4 separate regions of the Homo sapiens genome follow, and regions 2, 3 and 4 are each linked to region 1. Evidence: promoter capture Hi-C in 16 types of primary human blood cells and fetal thymus (Javierre and others, 2016). All regions are on one chromosome and are shown on one strand. The core of a region is centred on a gene start or on the middle of the fragment in contact, and the rest is flanking DNA. Distances in the headings are between cores, read along the strand shown. Region 1 holds the start of DLL3 (delta like canonical Notch ligand 3). Region 2 overlaps ACP7 (acid phosphatase 7, tartrate resistant (putative)). Region 3 has its middle 11 kb from the start of SYCN. Region 4 holds the start of DYRK1B (dual specificity tyrosine phosphorylation regulated kinase 1B).

Region 1 (3,289 bases), core at 705-3,204:
TGTTCTGCCCAATCTGACCCATGGCGCTGCCTTGCTCAAACGCCACTGTTGTCAGAATTAAGAGAAGAATCTTTAGGCTGTTTTTTTCTCCTCCTCCTCCTCCTTTTCTTTTTTTTTGTAGAAAAGTGTGTCTTGCTGTGTTGCCCAGGCTGGTCTCAAATTCCTGGCCTCAAGCAGTCCCCTGCCTCAGCCTCGGAAAGTACTGGGATTATAGGCGTGAGCCGCTGTGCCCAGCCTGGTCTTCTTTCATTCATTAAAAAATTAACTGCGCAGGGATTAGTGGCTCATGCTTGTAATCCCAGCAATTTGGGAAGCCGAGGTGGGTGGACCACTTGAAGGTCAGGAGTTCGAGACCAGCCTGGCCAACATGGTGAAACCCCGTCTCTACTAAAAATATAAAAAATTAGCCGAGTGTGTTGGTGGGTGCCTGTAATCCCAGCTACTCTGGAGGCTGAGGCAGCAGAATCGCTTGAACCCGGGAGGTGGAGGTTGCAGTGAGCCAAGATCGCACCACTGCACTCCAGCCTGGGCAACAAGAGCAAAACTTCTTCTTCTGAAAAAAACAACAACAGCAACAACAAAAAACAGAGCGCCTACTGTATGCCTGGCTCTGCTGGGCTAGGCTTCGTTGGTTACTATATCTTACTTCTCTGGAAAAAGACATATAAATTGAACCTGTATTTTCCCCTATAATTATTAGCCTCTAAGCACTAAAGTTTTTTACTTTGGGGGGGAAAAAAAAGAAGTTACCCCAGCTCAAGGGTTTTGCCCCATGCCTGGCAGGGAGCAATTATGACCAGAGGGGCTGGGACATCTGCTCCTAATTGGCTTTTCCTGCTGAGGTCCTGGAATACTAAAGGGTTTCTGAAGGGCCCGGGATGTCCCCCCCCCCAGTTCTTCTGGGGTGGGGGAGCGGGTCCCTGTATGTGAAGACGGAATTTCCTGCCCATTTGCTCCTCACACCTTCCGGAGGCCAAACGGGCAGCCCAGCTGCGGCCCGAAGGGGGAGGGGCTCGGCCGCCCGGCAGATGGCGGCATTTACATACAGCTGGGAGCCCCCTCTTGAGGCCGAGCTCCTCGCCCTGGCGTCTGGTGCGTCCGCGATGCGGGGTTTGGGAGGGTGGCTTTGTCTTGCGGAGGGGGAACACACACACGCCTGCACACAGGGGTCCACAAAGAGCCCTGGATCTTCATCGTATCCACACACAGCTACACCCGTGGATCTCCCAAACCCAGTCTCATTCACACAAACCAGCGCACACAGGGGTCTACAAAGAACTCCGGATCTTCATCGTATTCACACGCGGCTGCATCCGTGGACCTCTCAAACCCAGTCTCATTCACACACAGGCGCCCTCAGCCATTCACCACCTTGCACAGCCTCTACCACACCCGCACAGAGCACAAAGTCACAGGTTTATACGCCTATACAGGATCTCCCATAAACACACACGCACAGAGAAGCAGCCACACAGCCACACAATCTCAAAGCGTCACACAATCACGAAGTCGTGTACACTTCTAGTGTCCCACTCGGGTGTGCGTGCAGAATCAGAATTGTTTACAACCTCATAAATGTGTCAATCACACACAACTCCAGGCGTATGCTGAGCCGCACAGTCCCACGTGGACTCACAATGACAAAGTCATGTGCACCCTCCGGTAGCTCTGGTTCATACCACACACACAAAATCTTAAAATCATGTACAACCTCACACACAGGCTTAGCCCCCTAACCCCACCCCACCCTAGCCACACAAAAAGTCGCGGGATCACCCACGCATGACCTCGCTCGTGCCCACGACCACAGACGGAATCTCGCTGTTGCTCCTGCACGCTCCCCCTCCCCTGTGACCGCCCCCCCCGCCCCGCCCTTGGTCCCTTGGGGCCGGGTAGCTGCCTGAAGGGGCGGGGCCATTCTCTCAGATATAAGGCTTGGAAGCCAGCAGCTGCGACTCCCGAGACCCCCCCACCAGAAGGCCATGGTCTCCCCACGGATGTCCGGGCTCCTCTCCCAGACTGTGATCCTAGCGCTCATTTTCCTCCCCCAGGTCAGAGCCAGGTGGGAGGTGGCGTGGAAAGGGATGAATGCGGAGGGGAGGGGTGAGTGCGACCTGAAGGTCCTGGGGAAGGAGCGTGGGGCGGACGGGAAGCCTGGGTCCTCCCGGCCGCCTCACCCTGCGCCCGTCTCCGTCCCAGACACGGCCCGCTGGCGTCTTCGAGCTGCAGATCCACTCTTTCGGGCCGGGTCCAGGCCCTGGGGCCCCGCGGTCCCCCTGCAGCGCCCGGCTCCCCTGCCGCCTCTTCTTCAGAGTCTGCCTGAAGCCTGGGCTCTCAGAGGAGGCCGCCGAGTCCCCGTGCGCCCTGGGCGCGGCGCTGAGTGCGCGCGGACCGGTCTACACCGAGCAGCCCGGAGCGCCCGCGCCTGATCTCCCACTGCCCGACGGCCTCTTGCAGGTGCCCTTCCGGGACGCCTGGCCTGTAAGTGCTGCCCCCGGGGGACTCCCGGTGCTGGAGGCCTAACCCTGCCAGCGAAACCTCCACCTCCTCTCCCCTCCAGCTTCCAAGACCCTAATCCTGCCTCCCAGGGGGTGGACGAAATTCCCAGACCAGTAACTCTACCGTCTGGAACCCCACATTCACAGACCTCTAAACTCTACACACTGGGGATTCTAAATGTTCTGATTCCCCAACCCTGGATGCTGGGACCCCAAATTCCCAGAATTTCAAACCCAAGCTCTGAAATCCTAAACTCAAGGAACCCTACCTCTGCTCCTTGGGGATCCCTAAAAACTGTGGTCCTCATCTTTATCCCCAAACCTCTCACACCTTGTCTTGGGGACCACTAATATCTTCTCTCTCTTTTTTTTTTTTTTTCTGTCCTCAGTTCTTTCAGTTGGGTCCTGTATTAATTACTCTTTCACCTCCAAAATCCTGTCTCCCACCCCCACAACCCAAAGGCACAAAGATGAACAGACCTGTATTGCAATGCTTGACCCTTGTCCTTTTGGACAAGTGACTGCCTGGTTTCCAGCCTCAGTTTCCTAAGCTTAAAAATGGGATCATCCTGGTACCTCACAAGGGTCCCTTTTGAGCGATTCAACCACATCTCTTGAATAAAGTGCTTACCACGTAGTAAGTGCTCAATAAAGCAAGCCACGTCCAGTCGCTCACACTGTAATTCCAGCACTTTGGGAGGTCTAGGCAGGAGGATCTCCTGAGCCCGGCAGTTTGAGACCAGTCTCAGTAACATAGTGAGACCTCGTTTCTAAAAAAAAAAAAAAAACAT
Region 2 (2,912 bases), core at 233-2,732, 390 kb before region 1:
TGAAACCCCTTCTCTACTAAAAATACAAAAAAAATTAGCCAGGCGTGGTGGCAGGTGCCTATAGTCCCAGCTACTCGGGAGGCTGAGGCAGGAGAATGGCGTGAACCCGGGAGGCAGAGCTTGCAGTGAGCCGAGATCGCACCACTCCAGCCTGGGCGACTGAGCAAGACTCTGTCTCAAAAAAAAAAAAAAAAAAAAAATTAGGCCAGGTGCGGTGGTTCATACCTGAAATCCCAGCACTTTGGGAGGCTGAGGTGGGCAGATCACTTGAAGTCAGGAGTTAGAGACCAGCCTGGCCAACATGGTGAAACCCCGTCTCTACTAAAAATACAAAAATGAGCTGGCCATGGTGGCGGGTGCCTGTAATCCCAGCTACAAGGGAGGTTGAGGCAGGAGAATCACTTAAATCTGGGAGGTGAAGTTTGCAGTGACCCAAGATGGCACCACTGCCCTCCAGCCTGGGAGACAGAGTGAGACTCTGTCTTGGAAAAAAAAGGAAAATTAGTCAAGTGTGGTGGCAGATGTCTGTAGTCCCAGCTACTTGGGAGGCTGAGGCAGGAGGATCACTTGAGTGCAGGAGTTAGAGTTTGCAGTGAGCTATGATCTCGCCTCTGTACTCCAGCCTTGGCAACAGAGTGAGACCCTAACTCAAAACAAAAAAACGAACAAATGTGGACTGTAGAACTAGAAACCTGCTCCTGCTGCTTACCAGCTGAGTGACCTTGAGTCACTCATCTAATTTTTTTTTTTTTTTTTTGAGATGGAGTCTCGCTCTGTCACCCAGGCTGGAATGCAGTGGTGCAGTCTTGGTTTACTGCAACCGCCACCTCCCAGGTTCAGGCAATTCTCCTACCTCAGCCTCCCGAGTAGCTGGGATCACAGGCGCCCACCACCACACCCGGCTAATTTTTTGTATTTTTAGTAGAGACAGGGTTTCACTGTGTTGGCCAGAATGGTCTCGAACTCCTGACATCAGGTGATCTGCCTGCCTCAACCTCCCAAAGTGCTGGGATTACAGGTGTGAGCCACTGTGCTGGGCCCACTTATCTAACTTCTTTGCCTCAGTTTTCCCATCTGTGAGAGGGGATAATCATAGTTTCCACCTCACAGGACTACATGGGGGTTGAAGGACTTATTATATATAAAATGCTTAGAAGAGTGCGGAACTTGGTAAATTCTGTAGGTATTTACCATTGTGAGGCAGGGGAAGATAAAGATGGGGGGTGGGACACAGGTAGGGGAAAACAATAAGATGAGTATGTGGTACAGGTGGCTTAAGGTTAGGTGGATCCAAATAATAATGGCTCACCTTTCTTTATTTTTGCCATTGTAGTTTTAAAATAATGACAATATTTATGATTTATTGAGCACCTACTGCATACCAGGCACTGCCTAGATGCTCTGCATTTAGTAGCACTTTATTTATTTATTTGTTTTTGAGACAGAGTTTCACCCTGTCGCCCAGGCTAGAGTGCAGTGGTGCAATCTAAGCTCACTGCAACCTCCACCTCCCAGGTTCAAGCAATTCTCCTGCCTCAGCCTCCCGAGTAGCTGGGATTACAGGCACATGCCACCACACCCGGCTAATTTTTTGTATTTTTAGTAGAGATGGGGTTTCACCATGTTAGCCAGGCTGGTCTTGAACTCCTGACCTCAGGTGATCCACCCACCTGGGCCTCCCAAAGTGCTGGGATTACAGGCATGAGCCACCGCATGCGGCCCCAGTAGCACTTTATACACCAAAACAATCCCACAGGAGTGGATTTCCTCTCCATTTTATAGGTGAGGGAACTGAGGCTCAGAGAGGGGAAGTAATTTTCCCAGGGTCACACAGTTGGAGGACGGCCAAGCTGGGATCTGATAGCTACCATTTATCGAGTGGCACATGCACCGGGCGCAGACTTTTGTGTGCATGATCTCACTCTGTTCTCATGATGACTCTGGGCATCTATTACTTTGTGCATTGCATAGAACATGGAAGTTTTGCTCAGAGAGTCCAGCAACATGCTTAAGGCCACCTAGAGGGTGGATGCGCTGGCCAGGTGCAGCAGCTCATGCCTTTGGGAGGCTGAGGCAGGCGGATCACTTGAGGTCAGGAGTTCGAGACCAGCCTGGCCAACATGGTGAAACCTTGTCTCTAGTAAAAATACAAAAATTAGCCAGGCATGGTGGTGCATGCCTGTAATCCCAGCTACTTGGGAGGCTGGGGCAGGAGAATGGCTTGAACCTGGGAAGCGGAGGTTGCCACTGCACTCCAGCCTGGGTGACAGAGCAAGACTCTGTCTAAAAAAAAAAAAAAAAAAAAAAAAGGAGAGAGAGAGAAAGAGTGGATGTGCTGGAATATAAAGCAAGGTCTGTCTGACTCCAGAGTTTGTGCTCTAATAATAGCCTACACTTACATAGCCCTTTCCATATGCTGGGCTCTGTTTACAAATACTATCTCATTTAACTCCCACAACATCTATGATGTGGGTACTGTTACTCTTCCTATCACTTTTCAGATGAGGAAAACTGAGGCCCAGAGAGGCCTAGCCACTTGCTCAGGGTTGTACAGCCCATCAGAGGGCAGAGAGGGGACTGGAACCCAGGCCATGTGGCCCCAGAGTTCAGGCTTTCAGCTCTAACTACTGTCCCTGTTTTTGTCCCTCACAGGATGGGAAGATCGTAGATGATGTCTGGGTGGTGAGACCCCTGTTTGGCCGGAGGATGTACCTCTAGGGATGGCGGCAGCTCTCCTCCAGAAGCCTAGGTTTTGCCGCCTTGGCTGCTGTGACCAGAAACTGCCCAGGCCTGGGTGGGGAGTTGGGTGGGCCCTGACTCCCCTGCCCTCCAGAGGCCCCATGTAGGGTACATGCAGCCCTATGGAGCTGGGGCAGCTGTTCCCTCCTGGAGAGGTGGGAGTCCTGGCTGGC
Region 3 (3,212 bases), core at 516-3,015, 280 kb before region 1:
ACTGTGTTGCCAAGCTGCTTTCAATCTCCTGGGCTCAAGTGATCCTCCTGCCTCGGCCTGCTAAAGCACTGGGATTTCAGGGGTGAAGCGCTGCTCCCAGCCTATTATATCTTTCATGCTTGCTTTCTTTATTCTTTTTTCCTTTGAGTTTTTTGTTTGTTTGTTTGTTTGTTTGTTTTTGAAACGGGGTCTCGCTCTGTCATCCAAGCTGGAGTGCAGTGGTGCGATCTCAGCTCACTGCAACCTCCGCCTCCCAAGTTCAAGGGATTCTCCTGCCTCAGCCTCCCAAGTAGCTGGGACTACAGGCATGTGCCACCATGCCCAGCTAATTTTTTGTAGTTTTAGTAGAGATGGGGTTTCACCATGTTGCCCAGGCTGGTCTTGAACTCCTGACTTCAAGTGATCCACCCACCTTGGCCTCCCAAAGTGCTGGGATTACAGGCATGAGCCACCATGCCTGGCCCTTTTCTTTGAGTTTTGCGTGCTGTTCTTTTCCTCACATTTAAGATAGATGGTTAGCTGGCTTATTTTCAGCCTCGTTCCTTTTCCCACATTTGTATTTAAGGCTTTACACTTTTTTTGTGGGATTGTTGTGTGTCTTACATAAGCAAAAAGTATAGTGGGTTGAGGTTATTTCAGGCACATGGAAAGTGCTCAGTGTGTTTACTGACATGGATGATGGTTTTGATTATTATTTAATTTATTTATTTATTTTGAGACAGAGTCACACTCTGTTGCCCAGGCTGGAGTGCGGTGGCGCGATCTCACCTCACTGCAACCTCCACCTCCCGGGTTCAAGCAATTCTCCTGCCTCAGCCTCCTGAGTAGCTGAAATTATAGGTGTGCACTACCACACCTGGCTAATTTTTGTATTTTTTAAAATAGAGATGGGGTTTCCCTATATTGGCCAAGGTGGTCCCGAGCTCCTGATGTTAGGTGATCCACCTGCCTCAACTTCCCAAAGTGTGATTATTATTATTCTTATTAATCAGGAGCTTTAGAGTCAGAGAAAGATTCAAGCAAGAAGTTTGGATTAATTATGAATCAGTTTCCTATTGCTGCCGTAACAAATGATTGCAAACAGTGCTTTACAACAACACAGATTCATTATCTCACAGTCCTGGAGGTTGGAAGTCCAAAATGAGTCTCCTTTGGCTAAAATCAAGGTGTCATCGGGCTGCCTTCCTTCTGGAGGCTCCAGGGGAGAATCCTGTTTCTTGCATTTTCCAGATTCTAGAGGCCACTTGCATTCCTTAGCTTGTGGCCCCTTCCTTGTTGAAGTCAGCAACAGAGAATCTTTAAATCCCTCTATGACTCTGTCCTTTTCTGCTGCCTGCTCTTCCACTTTAAGGGATCCTTACAATTACTCTGGTCCTACCCACATAATCCAGGATAATTTCCTTTGTTGTTGTTGTTTTTTGTTTTAAAGACACGGAGTCTTACTCTGTTGCCCAGGCTGGAGGGCAGTGGTGTGATCACCACTCACTGCAGTCTTGATTACCCAGGCTCAAGCAATCCTCCTGCCTCAGCTGCCTGAGTAGCCGGGACTACAGGTATGCACCACCACACCTGGCTAATTTTTGCATATTTTTGTAGAAACAGAATCTTGCTATGTTGCCCAGGCTGGTCTCAAACTCCTGGGCTCAAGTGATCCTCCAGCCTCAGCCTCCCAAAGTGCTGGGACTACAGGCATGAACCACCGCACCCAGCCTAGAGTCCATGTTTTTAGCCACTCAGCTCCAGGATACACTGAGCCTGGTTGCATAGTCAATTTCTTTTCTTTTCTTTTTTTTTGAGATGGAGTGTTGCTCTGTCGCCCAGGCTGGAGTGCAGTGGCATGATCTCAGCTCACTGCAACCTCAGCCTTCCAGGTTCAAGAAATTCTCCTGCCTCAGCCAGCCTCCCAAGTAGCTGGGATTACAGGCACGTGCCACCATGCCCAATTTCCTTATTTTAAAATCAATGGGACATGCGTGGTGGCTTATGCCTGTAATCCCAGCACTTTGGGAAGCCGAGGCGGGCAGATCACTTGAGGTCAGGAGTTTGAGACCAGCCTGGCCAATATGGTGAAACCCCATCTCTACTAAGAATACAAAAAATTAGCTGGACGTGGTGGCATGCACCTGTAGTCCCAGCTACTCAGGAGGCTGAGGCATGAGAATCGCTTGAGCCCGGGAGACAGAGGCTGTAGTGAGCCAAGGTCACACCGCTGCACTCCAACCTGGGTGACAGAGTGAGACTGTCTCAAAAAAATAAAATAAAATAATGATTAGTGACTTTAATTCCATCTGCAACCTTAACTCTTCCTTGCTGTGTAACATAATATATTCGCTAGTTCTGAGGACACCTCGGGGGGCTGTTATTCTGCCCAAAAATTAGTATTTTGTTTTACAAATGAGGAGTATTCTTGTCTTTCATATGAAGGGAGACAGCTACCAAGGCTGTCTGGGGCTCCAGTGTCAGGGCCCAGGCTCCTTCTGTCTTGTTGCTCCAGCATCAAATGTGGCTTTTTCTTGTGGCCCAATATGGCTGCTTGAGCTCCATCCTTCCCATCTACATCCCAGTCAACATGTGGAGGAAGGGAGGGAGGGAAGAAGAAGGAAATGCTCTTCCAGGAGCATGGTACATGACACTCCTGTCTACATCTTGCTGCCAGAACTTAGCTAGAGATGGGCACTCAATGCCTCAAAAAGATGGATCTAGGCCAGGCGCAGTGGCTCACACCTGTAATCCCAGCACTTTGGGAGGCCGAGGCAGGCGGATTACGAGGTTAGGAGTTCAAGACCAGCCTGGCCAAAGTGGTGAAACCCCATCTCTACTAAAAATACAAAAAATTAGCTGGGCATGGTGGCAGGTGCCTGTAATCCCAGCTACTCAGGAGGCTGAGGCAGAAGAATTGTTTGAACCCAGGAGGCAGAGGTTGCAGTGAGCTGAGATCGCACCACTGCACTCTAGCCCGGGCGACAGTGCGAGACTCCATCTCAAAAAAAAAAAAAAAAAAAAAAAAGATCTGGCCTTGGGTTAGCTGTATGCCTGGTCACAAATCAAATTTCCTATTACTGAAGGAAGAACAGATATTGAGGCCATGTCACAGATTGAAGGAATAAGAAGCACATTGAAGGGATGACAGAGTCAGAGAGGACATAGATGTCCAGGAAAAAGTGGAATCCAGCCTTTCTACAATCTGGGTACAGTAGAAAGAAGGGGGGTGT
Region 4 (3,154 bases), core at 13-2,512, 340 kb after region 1:
TCCTTTTCTCCCCTACACTGCTTCCTTGCCCCCCTACACACACACACACACCCTAATATTCCTACCACAGACCTTTCTCCAGGCACCCCTCTTTATACCAGGGTCATTCCACAACTGTGTCCACTCCTAGAGGGCCTCAAAGTCAAATCCCCAAGTTATCACATAGGGTTCTCTCCTCCCAGAGTTGTCAGCTACAGCAAAAATCTTCTCCCCATGGGCCACTCTCTCCCCCATGTCAAATCCCTTTCTCCTATTCCATGCCTTGCCACTCCACGACTCCTCCACCCTTGGAGCTTCCCCCAAAAAACCACCTCTTCTCCGGGGCCCTCCCACACCAGGATCATCTCTCCCAGCCCCCACCCCCTACCCGGGTCAGGGCTGGCGCGGGGCCCACGGGGGGCTGGGGCGCGGTGGGGCCCCCAGTGGGGTGGGCGAGCGGCCAGCATGGCGGCGGTGGCGGCGCTGAAAAGGCGACCGCCTGTCTCTGGCCCGGCCGGCCCCGCGGCGGGGAGGGCAAGCGGGACAGGAGGCCCGGTGGGTGACAACAGCAGCCGCCACTGCCACCGGGGGCGGGGAGAGGAGGGGACAAGGGTCAGCCCAGGGCACGCGGGGGAAGAGTAGAGCAGGTGGACGGGGGAGGGGCGACACGCCCCACCCTGAGTGACCACCAGCCCCTAGGGACCCGGCGTCCCGCCCCCCACCCAGGAGGCCCTCCTGGGCCTGCTGAGACCGGAAGGCGGGGCCCGACTGAGCTTGGCAATCGGCACCTGCCATGGCAACAACTGTACCATTGGTCGCTGGTGCCAAGAGCTCAGCCAATCACAGCCTAGGGCAGCTGTTGCTAGGCGACGAAGAAGCGGCCCGCGGAGCTGAGCCCAAACAAAGGGCGGGAGTGGGGCCCGGCTACCCCCTCCCAGCCTCCCTCCTGCAACTGCTTCCTCGGGCTTGGCCGGTTCCAGGAATTCAACTATGAATAGCCAGGCAGGGCCCGCACCTGCCTGCCACCCCCCTCCTCTCCTCCCTTGGCCTCGTGCTAAGTCTCACGGCGACGGGAGCAGGGCGGATCCCGTCCTGCCCACCTCCCTGCGACCGCTTGCCGCCCCACCCGTCCCCGCGCCGTTACCTGAAGGAGCGGGCAAGGGGACTCAAACTGCTCGGGGAGCCCGAGCTCAGACCTGCCCACTGGCTGAGGGTATCCGGCGGACGCGGCAAGCCAGGGCCCCGATTACCCAGTAATGCAACCAGCAAAATGGCGACCACAACAAACCGGCCCCCCCACGCCCTGGACTCCGCCCCCATCCCTCCCTCTCCGCTCCCCTCACGTGACCCACACTGACACTCCGCCTGCGCGAGATGGCCGCTTACCTGCACGCATGCGCAGCGAGCTACCAATCCCACCCAAGAACCGAAATCCAGGCTGCCGCTGCGCAAAGGCAGCTAGAAACGGAGCATGCGCTCTGTGACCGAGTGAGAATTTACCCAACCCCGCAAAATTGACCAAGGGTGCGTGCTCCCTGTGTCAGCAGGTCAAGGGGAGGAATGAGCAGCAGACATGGGAGACGGATGAGTCTTTTAATAGAAAAACACACGTGCAACAGTATCAACACACATCTCTCGCAATCCTGACAGCGCTGAACTTCAGTTCTTCACCTTGGGGGGTGGCCTGTGAGAGGAAGATAGGTGATGAAGGAGGGTCCCCAGGATCATGGCACTCGGGGTGCAAGGGACAGAGATGTCTGTCTTGGTGTATTGCTGGGCCCCTGCTCACCTGTACACTCCCACGACCACGGCATGGTCTCTTTCATATGGCTCAAGGGTCAACTGCTCCTGCGGCTTCATGTTCTCCTGTTGCATCTTTTTCACTTCGGAGGCAAACACGGCCTCGGCTGAGGCTGTGGAGTCAATGCAGTTGGCCTAAAGAGGAGAAAGGACTAATGTCTACAACAGGGCTTTGGGCTGTTTTTCTCTTGTGTGCTCTTTAAACCAGATGTTTTCATTATTAATTCAAGTAAAACTCAGTGCTATGGTTCTAGTGTGTCCCCCAAAGTTCATGTGTTGGAAACGTAACCCTTAAATGCAAGAGTTGAGAGGTGGGACCTTCGAGAGATGATTCAGGTCATGAGGCCTCTGCCTTCCTGAATAGAGTAATGCTATTATCACAAGAGTGGGTTGCTGATTAAAAGGATGATTATGCCCCCTTTCTATCTTGCTCTCACCCTTCTGCCAATGGATGACAGCAAGAAGGCCCTCGCCAGATTCAGACCTCCAATCTTGGACTTTCCAGCCTTTGGAACTGGGAGCCAAATAAATTTCCATTCATTATAAATTACCCAGTCTAAGGCTGGGCGTGGTGGCTCACGCCTGTAATCCCAGCACTTTGGGAGGCCGAGGTGGCTCAATCACGAAATCAGGAGATTGAGACCATCCTGGCCAACACGGTGAAACCCTATCTCTACTAAAAATACAAAAATTAGTCGGGTGTGGTGGCGCACACCTGTAGTCCCACCTACTCGGGAAGCTGACGCAGGAGAATCGCTTGAACCCAGGAACTGGAGGTTGCAGTGAGCCGAGATCGTACCACTGCACTCCAACCTGGTGACAGAGTAAGACTCCATCTCAAAAAAATAAAAATAAAAATAAAAATAAATAAATTACCCAGTCTATAGCATTCTGTGATAGCTGCATAAAATGGGCTAAGACACTCGGGTTTAGGAAATGTGATAAAAGGCTTAATGAAAGTTTTTGGCTGGGTGCAGTGGCTCGTGCCTGTAATCCTAGCACTTTGGGAGCCTGAGACAGGCAGATTGCCTGAGCTCAGGAGCTCCAGAGCAGCCTGAGCAACATGGCAAAACCCCGTCTCCACTAAAAATATAAAAGTTAGCCAGGTGTGGTGGCACACGCCTGTAGTCCCAGCTACTTAGGAGGCTGAGGCAGAAGAATTGCTTGAACCTGGGAGGCAGAGGTTGCAGTGAGCTGAGATTGCACCACTTCACGCCAGCCTTGGTGACAGAGCGAGACTCTGTCTCAAATTAAAAAAAAAAAAAGTTTTTAGTTTTGTTTTGGATTTGAAGCAGGAAGCCTTAAACAGTCCTATTTATCTAAAAGCCAGTGCTTAAATTTTATACCCAGGAATTGTTTGGCTTATTTCTACTTC

The links. Contacts are between HindIII fragments. The CHiCAGO score rates a contact against its expected background, and 5 or more counts as called.
Region 2: a contact is called between a fragment that was not itself captured here and the fragment with the promoter of DLL3 in region 1, in 2 of 17 cell types (naive B cells and neutrophils). The highest score is 7.0, in naive B cells.
Region 3: a fragment that was not itself captured here is called in contact with the fragment with the promoter of DLL3 in region 1 in 1 of 17 cell types (neutrophils); the score reaches 6.1 in neutrophils.
Region 4: the fragment with the promoter of DYRK1B here is called in contact with the fragment with the promoter of DLL3 in region 1 in 4 of 17 cell types (erythroblasts, total CD4 T cells, naive CD8 T cells and 1 more); the score reaches 6.7 in erythroblasts.

The regions. Positions count from the first base shown.
Region 1 is chr19:39,496,993-39,500,281 of GRCh38, forward strand. DLL3 (delta like canonical Notch ligand 3) reads left to right here and starts at 1,955. Exons shown (of 9, transcript NM_203486.3): 1 at 1,955-2,051; 2 at 2,200-2,481. The coding sequence starts at 1,983. RefSeq lists an enhancer at 659-1,651 and a silencer at 1,275-1,334. The HindIII fragment of the contact is 3,955 bases long and covers 1-3,047 here.
Region 2 is chr19:39,107,401-39,110,312 of GRCh38, forward strand. ACP7 (acid phosphatase 7, tartrate resistant (putative)) reads left to right here. Exons shown (of 13, transcript NM_001004318.3): 13 at 2,653-2,912. The coding sequence ends at 2,718. Among named protein-coding and RNA genes, the nearest start is that of PAK4, 17 kb to the right of the region's middle. The HindIII fragment of the contact is 5,363 bases long and covers 1-2,912 here.
Region 3 is chr19:39,214,007-39,217,218 of GRCh38, forward strand. No RefSeq gene overlaps it. Among named protein-coding and RNA genes, the nearest start is that of SYCN, 11 kb to the left of the region's middle. The HindIII fragment of the contact is 6,255 bases long and covers 1-3,212 here.
Region 4 is chr19:39,832,900-39,836,053 of GRCh38, forward strand. DYRK1B (dual specificity tyrosine phosphorylation regulated kinase 1B) reads right to left here and starts at 1,263. Exons shown (of 11, transcript NM_004714.3): 1 at 1,124-1,263. FBL (fibrillarin) reads right to left here. Exons shown (of 9, transcript NM_001436.4): 8 at 1,769-1,914; 9 at 1,559-1,663. The coding sequence ends at 1,639. RefSeq lists silencers at 436-705, 966-1,075. The HindIII fragment of the contact is 24,958 bases long and covers 1-3,154 here.